Linked DNA regions of Homo sapiens: region 1 is linked to region 2. Evidence: promoter capture Hi-C in 16 types of primary human blood cells and fetal thymus (Javierre and others, 2016). All regions are on one chromosome and are shown on one strand. The core of a region is centred on a gene start or on the middle of the fragment in contact, and the rest is flanking DNA. Distances in the headings are between cores, read along the strand shown.

What was found. Contacts are between HindIII fragments. The CHiCAGO score rates a contact against its expected background, and 5 or more counts as called.
Region 1: a fragment that was not itself captured here is called in contact with the fragment with the promoter of SKAP1 in region 2 in 2 of 17 cell types (activated CD4 T cells and naive CD4 T cells); the score reaches 5.9 in activated CD4 T cells.

The regions. Positions count from the first base shown.
Region 1 is chr17:48,613,781-48,621,082 of GRCh38, forward strand. It overlaps HOXB8 (homeobox B8), which reads right to left and starts at 1,512. Exons shown (of 2, transcript NM_024016.4): 1 at 501-1,512. The coding sequence starts at 924. RefSeq lists an enhancer at 3,730-4,253. The HindIII fragment of the contact is 3,223 bases long and covers 1,970-5,192 here.
Region 2 is chr17:48,428,883-48,435,568 of GRCh38, forward strand. SKAP1 (src kinase associated phosphoprotein 1) reads right to left here and starts at 1,332. Exons shown (of 13, transcript NM_003726.4): 1 at 1,193-1,332. The coding sequence starts at 1,238. RefSeq lists a silencer at 1,246-1,505. The HindIII fragment of the contact is 9,425 bases long and covers 1-6,686 here.

The DNA.
Region 1 (7,302 bases), core at 2,331-4,830, 190 kb after region 2:
GTTCAGATCTATTAGAAGTGCCATAAACTTTAGGAGGAAGGATGTGAAGGAGGGGGGAAAATAAGAATAAAAAAGCCGGGTGGGGACGAATGGACCCACCTTGAAAAGCCCCCAGAGCCTCTGCCCCAGAAGAAAAGTTTCTTCAGGGTAATTAAACTATAAAGCAATTGAGAAGTGCAAAAGTTGAGCGCCCCCACTCCCACCACCCTCTCTTCACTACCCCCCATAAAACAGTAAAAGGGGAAAAAAAGGAGGAGAAGAAGAAGAAAAGTAAGGCAGGATGAGGGGTTTATAGATTCAGGAAATGTTTCTAAGCGACCCCCTTCAAGGGAAAGAAAAAAGAAAGAAGAAAGAAAGATAAGAAAGAAAGGGGAAAAGCGGCAGGCGATCGGAACGGAGCCGGCAAGTCTTCCAGAAGCTGGAGGAAATGCGCCCCGGCCTGCCAGGCCTTGGGCCCTTCCGGCCCCCTCCTGCCCTTGTCGGCCCCGAGGCGAGCTCACCTTGCGGGCGCATCCAGGGGAAGAGCTGTGTGGGCGACGGGCTCTGCTCGGAGCCCTCGGCCTCCTCGCCCAGGCCGCTGGCGGCGGCAAGCTTGCAGTCTGCGTACTGCACCAGGTCTGGATCCTGCGCACCGAATAGGCTCTGGCGTTGCAGCGGGTCGTAGCCGTAGAAATTGCCGGGGTCCCCGTGGCACGCCACGGCGCACGGGTTCTGCTGGTAGGGAGCCGTGGACAGCGACGACGGCCCGTGGTAGAACTCCTGGATTTGCGACGGGTGCTGGAAGCTGCCGCCGCTGCTGGGACCGTACACCACGGTGGGTCGGCCGCCCAGGTCCTGGGCGAAGCCGCAGTCATAATAATTGGGGCGCAGGGACTCCCCGGTTTTGTATTTGGAGAACAGTGAGTTGACGAAATAAGAGCTCATTTTATTGAATTTTGAGGCGGCGGCGGCGGCGGAGGCTATAGTTGGGGGCTGTTGGGGAGGGGGTGGGGAGGGGGAAAGGGAGGGAGAGAGAGAAAAAAACGCGGATTCGCCGGCTCCTAGTCACCCTCGCCAGGAAAGGAGAGGGAAAGAGAGGAGGGAAAAAAAGAAAAGAAAGAAAAGGCGAAGAAGATCTCGAAGCCGACACACTTTTTGTGGTTTCCAGGAATAGAAAAGGACAGAGAAGCCTCCAAAAGTCTAAGCTTGCATGGCAGCCGCGGCTCGCTCGCCCTCCCCCCACCCCCCACCCCCCAAACAAAAATATACCACCACTTAAAGAGGTCCTCGCTTTACATTTCGAAGAAGGGATGCCAGTTCATAAACAGTTTTCGGTGATTTACTTCCCTGCAAATGAGTTGTTTCATATTTTGCACTGTCTTTTCATGATCATTTGCATCCATTAGAGACCCCGCATCCTATTGGCTTCTTCGTACTCCTCCCGGACAGAACGCAGAGCGAGGGTGAGAGCGAGAGAGAGCGAGCGAGAGAGAGAGCTAGAGCGAGAGAGCGCCAGGGAGTGAGGAGAGAGCGGAAAAAAAAAAAGGAGGGGAAGAAAAAAACACCCAGGGAGAGAGAGGGGGAGAGGGGGAGAGAGAGGGGGAGAGGGAGAGGGGGTGAGAGAGAATGAATACGGATTAAATCTGTTTAACTACCTACATTAATGAGATATCTCTCGCCTCACAACAAATCAAATACCTTCGCAGACCACCCCCAAAGACTGATGTGGGGGAGTCACGGAAAAAAACACGCACACACACATACACAACGCGCCAGGCGTAGGCACGCTGTTAATTTCGCGATTTTAACGAGGCAATTGGAGTCTTTCTAAATGTCAGGGTCGCTTCGGAAAAATGTAAAAGAACACGGTTTAATTGCGCCGAGTTTTAAAAGGTCCTATAAATGTAATTGGTATTTTAATACAAGTTATCAAATCATACAGCTTCCTCTCCTAAACGTATTTTCAAACAAACGAGGTAGTCATATTTAAAGCTTTAATGATCAATTTCCTTATTATTGATAAAGGTTTAACTATCGTGTGGAGGGAATTGGCTGGATAACCGGCCCCCCAAAAAACGGCTGTAAACTCTTTAAGAAACTATAAAACGCAATAAAGCCGGAGTCTGTTGTTGTTTATGCCGCAGCGCATAAAAGCTGTTAGCATTTTACGAGTTCTTTCCTCTACAGCTATAAAACTGCAGCTTCGATCGCCCCCGCCGCCCGATTGCAGCACGGTGGGGGTGACGAAGCCGAAATGAGAATGATTATGGGGATTTTTTTTTGGCACAAACGGTGACTTTTCTGAGATTTTCACCTCCTTCCGTCCTGGCAAGCACCTGCCCCCACCCCTTCTCTGGAGCCCCCAAAAGGTCCCTTCTCTGCCCTGCCCTCTCTGCCCTGCCCTGGCCAGTCACAAAACTTCCTCTCATTAAACAAATAAGCAAAAATTTTCTGTGAAACAGGGATCTGGGAGATCTTGAGGAGGGAACGGGAGGGAAGAAGAAACTTTCTGGTTAATGAGCAGTGGTTGAAGCACAGAGCAAAGTTCGAGCTGCCACTGCCGATTCTGCAGGTTTGTGCACTCTCTGCTTGCTGAAAAGGGGGTCTCCTGAAGGCCCTTCAGCCCATCAGCACTTTTGAGGGCAGACTTTGCATGAAGGGAGAGGGCCTGATGCCATCAGAGGGATGAAGCCCCAATGGGCTACCCGACACTTGCACCCAGGCCTTGGGACCCAGTAGCCAAGCCCAATTATTAATAGCTCCCAACCTTCCCAGGCCGACCCCCACACCTTCTGCAGTGCCTAAGGGTGAGAGGGGACCACTGAGCCCATCACTGCATCAAAAGGAAAGAAGGTTGGGTATCAGGCCCTGGCACCTGGCCTTCGTGTCCGCTGTCCTATGCTCTCAGCCACCCTAGGCAGTGCCTGCAGAGTATGTGTTGGGAGGGCATCTATTAGTCCTCAGTGTCCCCAAGACCTTTTGAGCCACTGTCACCACCTAAACTGACTTGGGTGTGGAATTCAGATAAAGCAAGGTTGCTGAGTCTCCCATTTTCTCTCCTTTCGCCTTGGGGAGCCTGTAGTTAAACCTGGCTCTCCCTGCAGACCTGGGAACCAGAGGTCTGAACACGGAAAGCTGGAACAAGCTGACTGGGTGCCACACTCTGTGGCCACTGCGTTCCCTGCCTACCCGGCTTCACGATGGTGGTGGCCAGGCTTTAGAAGGCCCCAGTCTGAGGGTCAGAACCAGTAGCCTCCTGTAGCAGTAGATTGGCAAGGGAGAGGAATGAGAGACAGAAAGAAAATTTTGAGCAACAAAAGTGGAGGCTTTACAAATATATTCAATCCATTGTTTATTCAGGAAACAGTGGTTTGTTTTTTTGACGGGCACCTTTTGGGGACCCCATACACCCCAACATTTGTAAAAATGAAACTATCACTTTTCCAAAGGGAACCTTACCAGTGAGGTCATTTGGTTCTTCAAAAGTGAACCTAGAGAATGAGAGAGGGGCTAGAAGCGGGAGAGAGATAAAGGAAAAGAGGAGGAATGGAGAGAACCAGGGCTTTGAATTTTCAGCGCGTGGCTGAGGGGACCGTGAGGCAACGGAGGGCCGAGTTAAATTGTTGCCGAAGCAAACATTTTTATCAAGTGCAGAGGATTTTATGGTCATTATTTGAAAACTCACCGGCGAGGTACAAATTCAATGGCTTGTTCTAAATCATCTCTACACCGTGCCAGAAATTCCTGATGGAAGGAAAATGTTTCTGTTATAGGAAAAAAAAAAAAAAAAAACGAAAGAGCGAGGAGACAATTTATAAACACCCAGCGGAGCGCAGATTTATTAGAGAAACTCAAGTTGAGGAGAAACTCCGCTTACCTCCTTGCACTAAGTCCTGGTGGGGGAGAGGAGAGGCTGCAGCTGGGGTGATTTTGAGGGGGTGGGAGTATCTATTGCTGGCGCAGGTTTGTCGGATGGAAGGCAGGGATCCGGCGGGGCCGGGAGGACACAGGAGATTTGGAATGCAAGGGGCTGTGAACAACCAGGGTGCGGGTCTCAGAACGAAAGTGCCCGGAGTCCAGACCTCCAGCTGCTCAATGAGGAAAGGACCGGCGCCCCCAGGTTTGCCTGCGGCCAGGGCCAAGGCGCACTGAAGCCGCACCTCTCACCTGGAAGCCCAGGAACCCAGGGAGAACAGAGCTCCTGCGTCCTGACGCCGCGCCCGCCTTCGCGCCCATGGGAAAACGCGCATTCTTTGGGAGCGCGCAAAGCATCCAGAGACCACATCCGAGCCTTCCCGCACCCTGCTGCCCTGGGGAGCCCCTGCCCCGTGCCTAGGTCGCCCTGCGCGAGCCCAGCCCAGCCCTGGACTCATACAAAGGCTCCAGAGCTTGCGCCCGTGCGAAGCCGCCCTGCCGGCTTTGGGCATCTCCGAATCCCCACAAAAGCTATGGCTCCATTCCCCCACACACACAAACTGGGGGGTCTCGGGCTGGCTTACGTGATTTTCTCTCCAGCCGATGGGCAGCTTCCTCTCCATCCTACCTTCTTTTGCCGGCTAGCCCCTCTCACCTGACCTGCTGACCCGCATCCAGGGACATTCCTTTCGCCTCCTTTCACGGAAAATCTCGTTGTTTCGAATCAATTCTCCTTTTGGATTTGGACCCATTATTCCTATTATTACTATTATTCCCCGTTTTCACGCATTTGTTGCCCCACCGAACACAGCAACTGGGTGAGAATCACTGAGCCCTCCTCTTGGGGAAAATTCAGAAAATTGACCATTTGAGGAGATGGGGGAACACTACTATAACTGAAATCTATAAAATGGGGGTAAGGCCATAACGAGCCCTATTTTTTTTATTAGGTACAAATTATTCATGACTTTTGGTAGCACTCAGTTCCTGGATTCAGGGCCGACCAAGGCGCGGTGCCGGGAGCAGACATCCGCAGCTGCCGCTCCAGGGAGTTTCACATGGAGCAAGGGTGCCATCTAGCGGCTGCTCTGCGAAAAGGCGCCGCAGCCACCGGCTCCACCAGTTTTCTGGGAGAGCAGCCGCAGAGGTGGCCAGCAGGAGAAACTTTCATAACTAGCAGTAAAAGGGGAGGGATAGGGAGTGGGCATCGGAATCAGGAAACGGTTCATGAAATTGTGTAGATAAGCTAAAAAATAGAAAAAAAACACAACAGAGGGGAGGAAAAAAAAGAAGCCCTAAGCTTTTTTCTTTCTACGTACACCTCCCACCCCTGCCCCTAATTTCTAGCGGAGACCGCAAAGCAGTGCGCCCTTTATGGCCTGTAAAAAGGGGGACCGAGCAGTTTTCAAACTCCACGCGATTGTTTCAAATTCTGAGGAGAAACAGTTGGGCTTTTTGTCGGGGGAGAGGAGGCCTGAGAGGATAGGATGAGACTGTAAAAGAATCAAGAGGCTGCCCGCGCCCAGACGTCTGGCCCCGCCGGACCTGAGTGTGTGTGTGTGTGTGTGTGTGTGTGTGTGTGTGTGTGTGTGTGTGCGCGCGCGCGCAGGAGGCTCCTCGTTTCCGACGCCTGATTCTGGAGGGGGTGTGAAGAACAAAGACAAGAGCCCCAGTTGCAATTTCTGAAGCATTTGCGACAACAAAGTGTTCTTTCCCGGCTTCTCTCTTCTCCCTCTCTGCCCCCTGCCACCCCCCGCCCCGGAAGCCCGGAGCCCCGTGTTCTGTGCGGGTGAGGGTGAAGGCTGCCGGAGCGGGGCCCACCCATTCCCCCGCCAGGCCGGGAGCCCCGGCCCAGCTGCGGCTCTCTCAGCTCCGGAAAGTTTCCCCTCGCTGTTTGCTTTGCTGCTGTTTAGTTTCTTAACCTTCAGAAATTTATACGCTATAAACTTTTATAGCGGTCATATTATTTTATTGCTGCGCACACGGCATTGAATTCCTCTCCCGGCTTCTCTCTGCCTCGCACTCTGGCGGTGTCCCTCTCTGAATCTCTCTTTTATGACAACTGATTTCCCCATCTCCGGCTTCCGAGCCTCCGCATCTTCGCCTTTGTTTGTCTTTAAAGAAGCAGCCCTGGGCTGGGGACCCAGACGCTGCAGGCAGAGGCCCCTCCAAGCGCCCTCGCCCCTACCACGCAGCACTCCCCTCTGTTCCAGCCTCGCTGAGCGTTTGCTTTAGGCAGAAACCGACCTTCTGTCTTTGCTGTCAGCACCGGCTGGGCCTGGGTAGCCCAGGATGGGGCAGGAGCCTGGTCTACACCAGCTGTAAAGCCAGATTCATTTTGCATCCCTAATGAAACCCTCTTTGGAGGGTGCCTGTCCGGGCCTGCCTGATGCGGAGCTCCGCTTTCTCCTGCCTCCCGCCGTCTCTTGGATCAGTTCGTCCTTTCGTTGGAGGAGGGTAGGCCTGGCCTTTTCACTTGCAGTCTCCCTTCATTCGGGCCATGCTTCGTTCCCAACTCTACCCCAACTCGCAGGGTCTCCGCGGGCCGCAGTGTTGCCGGCTTGGGTTGGGGAGAGGCTCCTGAGGTAGGCGGGCTCGGGAGCGCCGGCCCGCCGAAGCGGAATCCCAAGGCCTGGATGAGAAGCGCAGGCTGCCGAGAACTGCGATCTTCATAAGAGGCTCTGGCGAAATCCCTCAGTCTGAGAGGGACAAAAATGTGCCTCTTGAAACTGAGTTTAATTCTGGGGTCCTTTTGGGAGGTGAATTTTTCTACTGAGACATTTCTGCTTCACACTCAATGACCTCTCCACCCTTTGCAGAGGTGCTTACCCAGGGCTCAGCCCCTACCAACCCAGCCCACCTCAGACCAAGGCTGCTACCCTGTGGCTCAAACTGGAGCCTCCAACCCCAGGTGGGGGCCGAGAACCCTAAGGCGTTGGCTCCCTTTGAATGGAAGGAAAGAGATTCCAGCCCTCTGGAGGCCTCTGTCTAGACCTAGGCACCCTACTGCAGGGAAGAACAGAGGGAAATTACTGTGTTCCTCCCTTGCATCATATTTTAAAGCGGCCAAACTAAGGTGACATTCTCAGTGGCTGAGGGAGGAGAGCTACCCCCAGGAGGTGCAGGAAGACCTACCTTCCCTCCTATTCTCTAGTCAATGAGGAGGTTTCAGGACCTCATTGCTCCCCAGACCCTGTGCCCTCTCCAAACAACCCACATTTCCTTCCCTCCCCGCTCGTTTTCCAGTTCTCCTGTTGGAAGGCTCTTGATCAGTTTAACCAGTAGTCTTGGGACCTGGGGTCTGGGACTGGCTCTCAGCTCCACCTCTAGAGAGCTCTGCAGGGGACCTTGCCCTGCAGGGTGTAAGGAGAAACCTCCTGGACTCAGCAATCTTTTTTTTTCCAAGCC
Region 2 (6,686 bases), core at 82-2,581:
GTAAGTAAAACGGATTTTGGAAACCTCACCTCAAAAGAAATATCTAGCTGACAGCTTTTACATAGAAGCAATCCAGAATGGAAATAGTGCTACAGACAGAGACCAAAAGGACTTGCCAAATATTTGATTAGGAGGCATTTATACCGAGATAACAAGGTAATGGAGATATAAAACCAATTAAATTGAGAGAAACTGAAAAAAAATACTGCTTGCCAAAAATATGACCTGCCCAAAGCAGGCCGTCTGTTAAATATGTGTCAACTATGTCAACTTAGATGCCAAAAGGCTTAATTCTGAATAGTTTCCTCCTGGGAGCCTTATGCGACTGCAGATTCCAGGCCTCTGTCCTCCCTGGAAGGTTAGTTACAGGAAAGCAAGTAAAAGTGACTTCCACCACGAAACCCAGCAGATGAAACTGCCCGTTAGCAACGTCTCTTTGTGACATCTCTTTGGAGTGTTGGCAGTGTGTGTTGAGTGTTGACGGGGATGGCCGGAACTCTTTAAACCACCGCTTAGACACTGTAGTTGGAAGGTGAACACACCACAATGGGAGTTGGAAGGTGAACACACCACAATGGGGGCACTTCTAGAAAAGGAGGAAATCCCATACTGAGAATGAGCCTGCCTTGGGGTGGGTGAGACCCCTAGACGTCTGCAGGGTGATAAAGGGAGGGCTGGGGTTTTCGCACTGACAAAAACTCACGTCAACCACCTGGCCTTGGCCCATGGGGATCCCATGAGCCCCTCGCAGCCCCCTGGAGAGCCTCGGGGACCTCTAAGCAGGAAGGTTTGGGGTCTTCTGTGAGAGGTGAGGAAGTCGTGGCTGGGGAAGGAGGGGGACGGGAAACCCTACAGATGTAGGGCAGTCCTTTGGAGAAAGGGACAGGTCGGAGACCAGGCAAGGTGGCATGGGGGACCAAGAACCTGGCCTGAGGACTTTAGAAGCCGGGGAGGTGAAGTGGAGGCGTGGAGGTGCCTCAAGGCAAAAGAAGATGTGGGACTCCAGGGAGTGAAAGGGGCCCTGAGGTGAGAGGATGGAAAGCTGGCTCTAGGGAGTTGAGGGCTCTAGAAGCCTTAAGGTTCTAGAAGGAGGTGAGTGACGAAGCCGTAAAGAAAGCCTGGCCGTGGGAGGCCTGGTGTCCCCTTTCGGCCTTCGGCTCAGCACTGGAGGGGGCCTGCGCCAGGGCGTTACCTTCCAGGAGCCAACGGATCTCCTCAGGGAGGGCGGCGGCCTGCATTTGGCTGGGCGGGAGAGAGGCGGGACGGGGCGCGGGCCCTGGTCGGGAGGCGGACGGGCTGGAAGGCGACCCGGCTGCACCGCGAGGCACCTGTACCTCAGCCGCGGTCGCCGCCCGCCCAGCCCGGCCGCGGGGCGGGGCCGTGGGTCCCCGGGCGCGTCAGGAAGTGGCGCGGGCGGCAGGCGGGGACCGGAACGGGGCGCGGGGCGTGGGTGCACGTGGCGCTCACGCCGGAGCCCCACGGTAGAAGGATTGGGGGTGCCGGAAGCACCGCACCGTGCGAGGCCAAAGGTGCGCCCCTCCAGCACCCACCAAAACAAAAGACTTCACAAGGCTCAAAGGACCCACGGCTTTGGACACTCCATCCTAAGCACCGAACAGTTGACCTCACGGTGGCAGATTTGAAAGACCACGGGGTGCCTGAAGTAGGGTGCAGGGAGGCAGAATCCAAGGAAGAGATCCCCGTCAAGCATAGCACCCCTCAATTGCCGGTCCAGTTCACATCTCCATCCCCAGAAAAGAGGGCAAAACTTCGCTCTTTGGGAAGCCACAATGTTGAAAGGAAATGATTAATTCCCAATAAGCAATATAAGGACACCAACATTTGGGAGAATCGCGGCAGCGTGGCAGCAAGGGACACAGGAAACCAAACTGTGCTGTTCTCCCTCAGGATGGAAAGGCCCTGAGGAAAGGAAGGGGTAACACAGGGAGAAAGCTGAGGGAGAGGAGAACAGAGCCCTTTCCCTCCAGGAGCTGCGGAAGGGAGGAAAGTGAAGGACAAAATCACACGGTCTCATTCAAGGGACAGTTGGTGTCAGTGTCCTGGTTGTGACATGGTACTGTAATAGTGCCAGATGTTACCCTTGGGGGAAACTGGGTAAAGGTAGACAGAGTTCCTCTATTATTTCTGAAACTCTCTGTGAATCTATAATTCTCAAAATAAAGAGGTTTTTTAAGTACAATAGGTCAACTGCCATGAAAAAAGTATAAAGTGCTATGGTTGATAAAAGAAGGGAGCTGAATACCAGAAAAGGAGGGAAGAGGCCAGGCATTGTGGCTCACACCTGTAATCACAGCACTTTGGGAGGCTGAAGCAGGAGGATCACTTGAGCCCAGGAATCTGAGGTTACAGCCAACTATGATCACCCCAGTGTACCCCAGCCTGGGCAACAGAGCAAGACCCTGTCTCTTAAAAAAGAAAGAAAATAAAAAGAAGTGCCAGTGTGCATGTGAGTGTTTAAAGGTGCATGTGGTGTTTGAGATGGGCTCTGAAAAACACACCAGACTTTGAAGGGGCAGAGGACTTTCCAGGTGGAAGGACCAGAGTAAAGAAAGATGGAAGAGCCCTCACCAGCTTGAGGAATAGTTAGTAGCCCTCTTTTACTGGATGTTGTAGAAAGACTATGGTTGTCAAGATAAACTGCAGCTCTACTGTGAAGGGACTTGAAAGTCAGAATAGGAATGTTGAACTTAATTGAGAGGGCACTGGGGAGCCATTGACAATTTTTGAGATTGGGAATGACCTAACCAGAGCTCCGGGGTGGTATGTGGCCTCACACATCTCCACCTCTGCCTTTTTCCTTCTTTGTAAAAAATGGCATTTCTATTCTCAGACTCAACCTACAGAATATGTAGAAAAGATTAGGAGTGGTGGGAAAAGACACAGGGGGAAGTGGGTAAAATGGTTTTTACAACAGCCATAAGGGGAATAATGATGGACTCAATCTAGCAGACGGGGCAAGAGCAGTAAGAAGAAACCATCGAGAAGGATGAGTGTGATAAAAGTGCCTGCCTCCTTGTACTGTTTCCCATCCAGAGATACAGCCTCAAAGATGAGGGTGTGATCCTTTAAGGAGTACAGTGCATCCTGCCATCTGAAAAGCAGTGGTGCATTGGTTTCAGTGTCACATGACCCACCTACAAGCTGCAGTAAATTGGGGTGAGGGGACAGAGGCTGGCATGAGCCTCTCTGGGGTATCTGGCTCCTGCTCATCCTCCTTCCTGCCCTGAGAAAGTATAGTAATGGGTGGCTGGGCACAGTGGCTCACGCCTATAATCCCAGCACTTTGGGAGGCCAAGGCAGGCGGATCACGAGGTCAGGAGTTTGAGGTCAGCCTGACCAATATAGTGAAACCCCGTCTCTACTAATAATACAAAAATTAGCTGGGCATGGTGGTGCACGCCTGTAATCCCAGCTACTCGGGTGGCTGAGGCAGGAGAATCACATGAACCCGGGGGGCGGAGGTTGCAGTGAGCCGAGATCAGGCCATTGCACTCTAGCCTGGGTGACAGGGCAAGACTCCATCTCAAAAAAAAGAAAGAAAGAAAGAAAGAAAGTATAGCAATGGGCAGACTACCCCTTTCAGGCTTGGGATCAAGTACCAGGTACCCCCATGGCATTTTTACCAACTTCACCACTTCACCTATAAAATTGTAGCTGCTCTAGAATCATTTTGAAGTACTTATGAGGCATACTAAAAAGCAAGGAAAGATACATGGGAACTGTCTGTGCTATCATCTCAATTTTTTTTTGGTAAATCTAAACTGTTACACAAAAAATACAGCAAGGGCAGCAAAGTCTCCCCATATGTCAACCTAAACTTTGCCTTGCTTTCCTTCTTGGCAACAGAAGAAAATTTGATAACCTCCCCCTCTTCTTCAAGGATATGGTGTCACATACTAATATAAGCTACCAGCTAATGAATTGTTTGATAAAGAGCAGTAAACCCAGGTAATTGCACTTCTTTGCAGGCTTCACTGCCTGTCATAGCTTACTTACACCAAAAACTCACAGTGTACGTATTCTATATGCATCCTTCCTTACAAGAATCTCTGGGTTTTAGAGAGACAGGGGTAGAGGGAGGTGCACAGTCGGGTAGTATGTAGTGAGTGACTGGCAGATTCCAATACGGTATTGTCATGTTGCATCAAGGTTCCTCATTGCAGACAGAAATCTGCCTCCACACATGAACGCAGCCCTTCCTTAATCATCTGAGGACCCTGTTTCAGCAGTCAGCCCCACTCCTAATGACATTCTGTTAAATGGACAAATTCCTTTGAAGCCTTGTCCTTTTTTGAAATCCAATTTCGCAGGAAGCCAAATCTGATTGGGGGTAGCCATGGAAACCACATGGAGGAGTCTTAGAGGAGGTGAAGAGAGGCAAGGCAAAACGTGATAGTCACGAGTCCTTTACTGTTCTGTCAGAAATATCAAAGCAATCTGGAGAGGTTGGCAGTAGCTGAGTCCCTGCCTGGGTCCTGTTCTGTGTGGCTGGGTACTATGTGGCTGTCATGGAAGAAAGCAGCCAGCTGTCTCTGCACACAGGCAGGAGGACAGAACAGAATACACAAATCTCAGGTCTGTCTGCCTCCCTTTTCTTCCCGTCCCCCCCAGACCCAATTCCAGCAAGATCTTAGCATCCTCTTCTTAGCTGCCTGCCCCTTAAAGACAAACAACAAAAGAATGACAAGGTTAAAATACAAGGCCCTCACAGATAAGAGGTCCTTTGGAGCAGAGGCCATGAAATTAATCTGGAATTCCTTGTAATTAGATAAGATAAGGGGATCTAAAGAGATGTAGAACAGCCAGGAATGGAGTCCAGCAGCACAACATGCAGAAAACACACCGCCTTGTCCACCGGGACCCTTCACGCACTGTCAGCAGACAGAAGACACAGAAAATAGGGCCCATATTGGCCTCTGAGCTTCTTGGGAATGCTGTCTACATGTTCTCATGCCAGGTGGGCACTCGCTAAATAGGCATCTATGGGATGTCCAGAGGGACCAATCAGGAAGAAACAAAAGCATCTGGCACCCAGAATGGCATGCAGTGGGAACACAACTGCAAGCAAAGCAGGAGCTGGCTGGCACCGCTCTGCCCTGGCTGAAATGGGTCTGGAGAGGAAACTGCAGAGGGCAGGCTCTGAGGCTTTATTCTGAGCTGGTTATTGATCCCTGAATGCTGGGTCATGACATGTGGCGGAGCTGACGTCTGCCCTATGGATGTGCAGCCACTGCCTCTCAGCCTCTCGGTCCCAACCCCATCAACCGGGTTTATTGACTCTTTTATTGACAATGCTGGGGCCTAATGAGGCCAAGAGCTGCACACTTCATTAAGAGATGTGGAAGGAGAGATGATGCATCCTGTCGGTGCCAAGAACCAGGCTCACTGTATGTTTTGCAAGGCTCCAGAAACCAAGCATCATGCCACCTTGAAGGCAGAGGAGATGGACATAAGATGCTAACTTGGGCACGTTACTTCAGTGGCCTAAAAATGAAGTTTCCACGGCTTGCCAGAAGCCTTGTTCTTACCAATTAGCTAACTCTTCAACTTAGGAGGGTCCTGTTATACACACACTCACACAAATACACTTCCAATGGTCTCCCCTTCCAGCTCACACTCCTAGATTCTCTGCCTTAATACATACAACAAAATAAGCAGCTTCTCATATCACATCAGGAAACAATTCCATAAGCAGGTTCTCAGTGAGGTACAGGCTTGGAACAGTATGAGGGACTATATAAAAACTCAAAAGAATCTTCAAAGGGAGCAAATTCAAGATAAGGAACAGACCCAGCACTATACCCAGGGTCCCCCAGCTTACCAGGAGCTGTGCATTAGAATCAGGTACAAAGCTCTTGTAGAACTGAAAAATACCTAAGATAGATAGTTACAGCCTAGGGATCACTGAGCCACTCTACGAAGTCATCACTGTTGGCCCTCCTCCATCTAAATAGTAATGTTTCATTCCCAGCACTTTGGGAGGCCGAGGCAGGGGGATCACTTGAGGCAGGGGGATCACTTGAGGCAGGGAGTTGGAGACCAGCCTCGGCAACATAGTGAGACCCCTGTCTCTACAAAAAATTCAAAAATTTCAAAAATTAGCTGGGCATGGTGGCATAAGCCTGTAGTCCCAGCTACTCTTGAGGCTTAGGCAGGAGGATTGTTTGAGCCCAGGAGTTCGAGGTTGCCGTGCCACTGCACTCCAGCCTCGGCAACAAAGCTGAGACCCTGTCTGAAATAAATAAATAAATAGTAACATTTCTTTCTTTCTTCTTTATCTTATCTATCACTCCTCTTATTATTTTTTCTCTATTGTTCCCAATCCTTTTTTTTTTTTAATCTTCTTTACCTATCCTTTAGACCACATTAGATATCCCCGTTGGGCACTGCTGAGCCCAGCAGAGGACCTGAAGACCAAAGAGGTTGCTGACTCTGACATTCTCTGTTTTTGATTGGTTCTCTTGGGGATCTGAAGTGGAGATGGGGGGACTCAGAATGTATCAGCTGTAGCCAGATGAGCTGTGCACTCTGAGTGAGATGTGGAAACAGTCTGTGTAGCTAATCTGCATGAGAGCAGATGAGGCTAAGACTAATTTTATAGACTATAGACTATATATTTTCAGACATAACTTTGGAAACTAGCTGGAAGAAATAGTCTTTTCTTC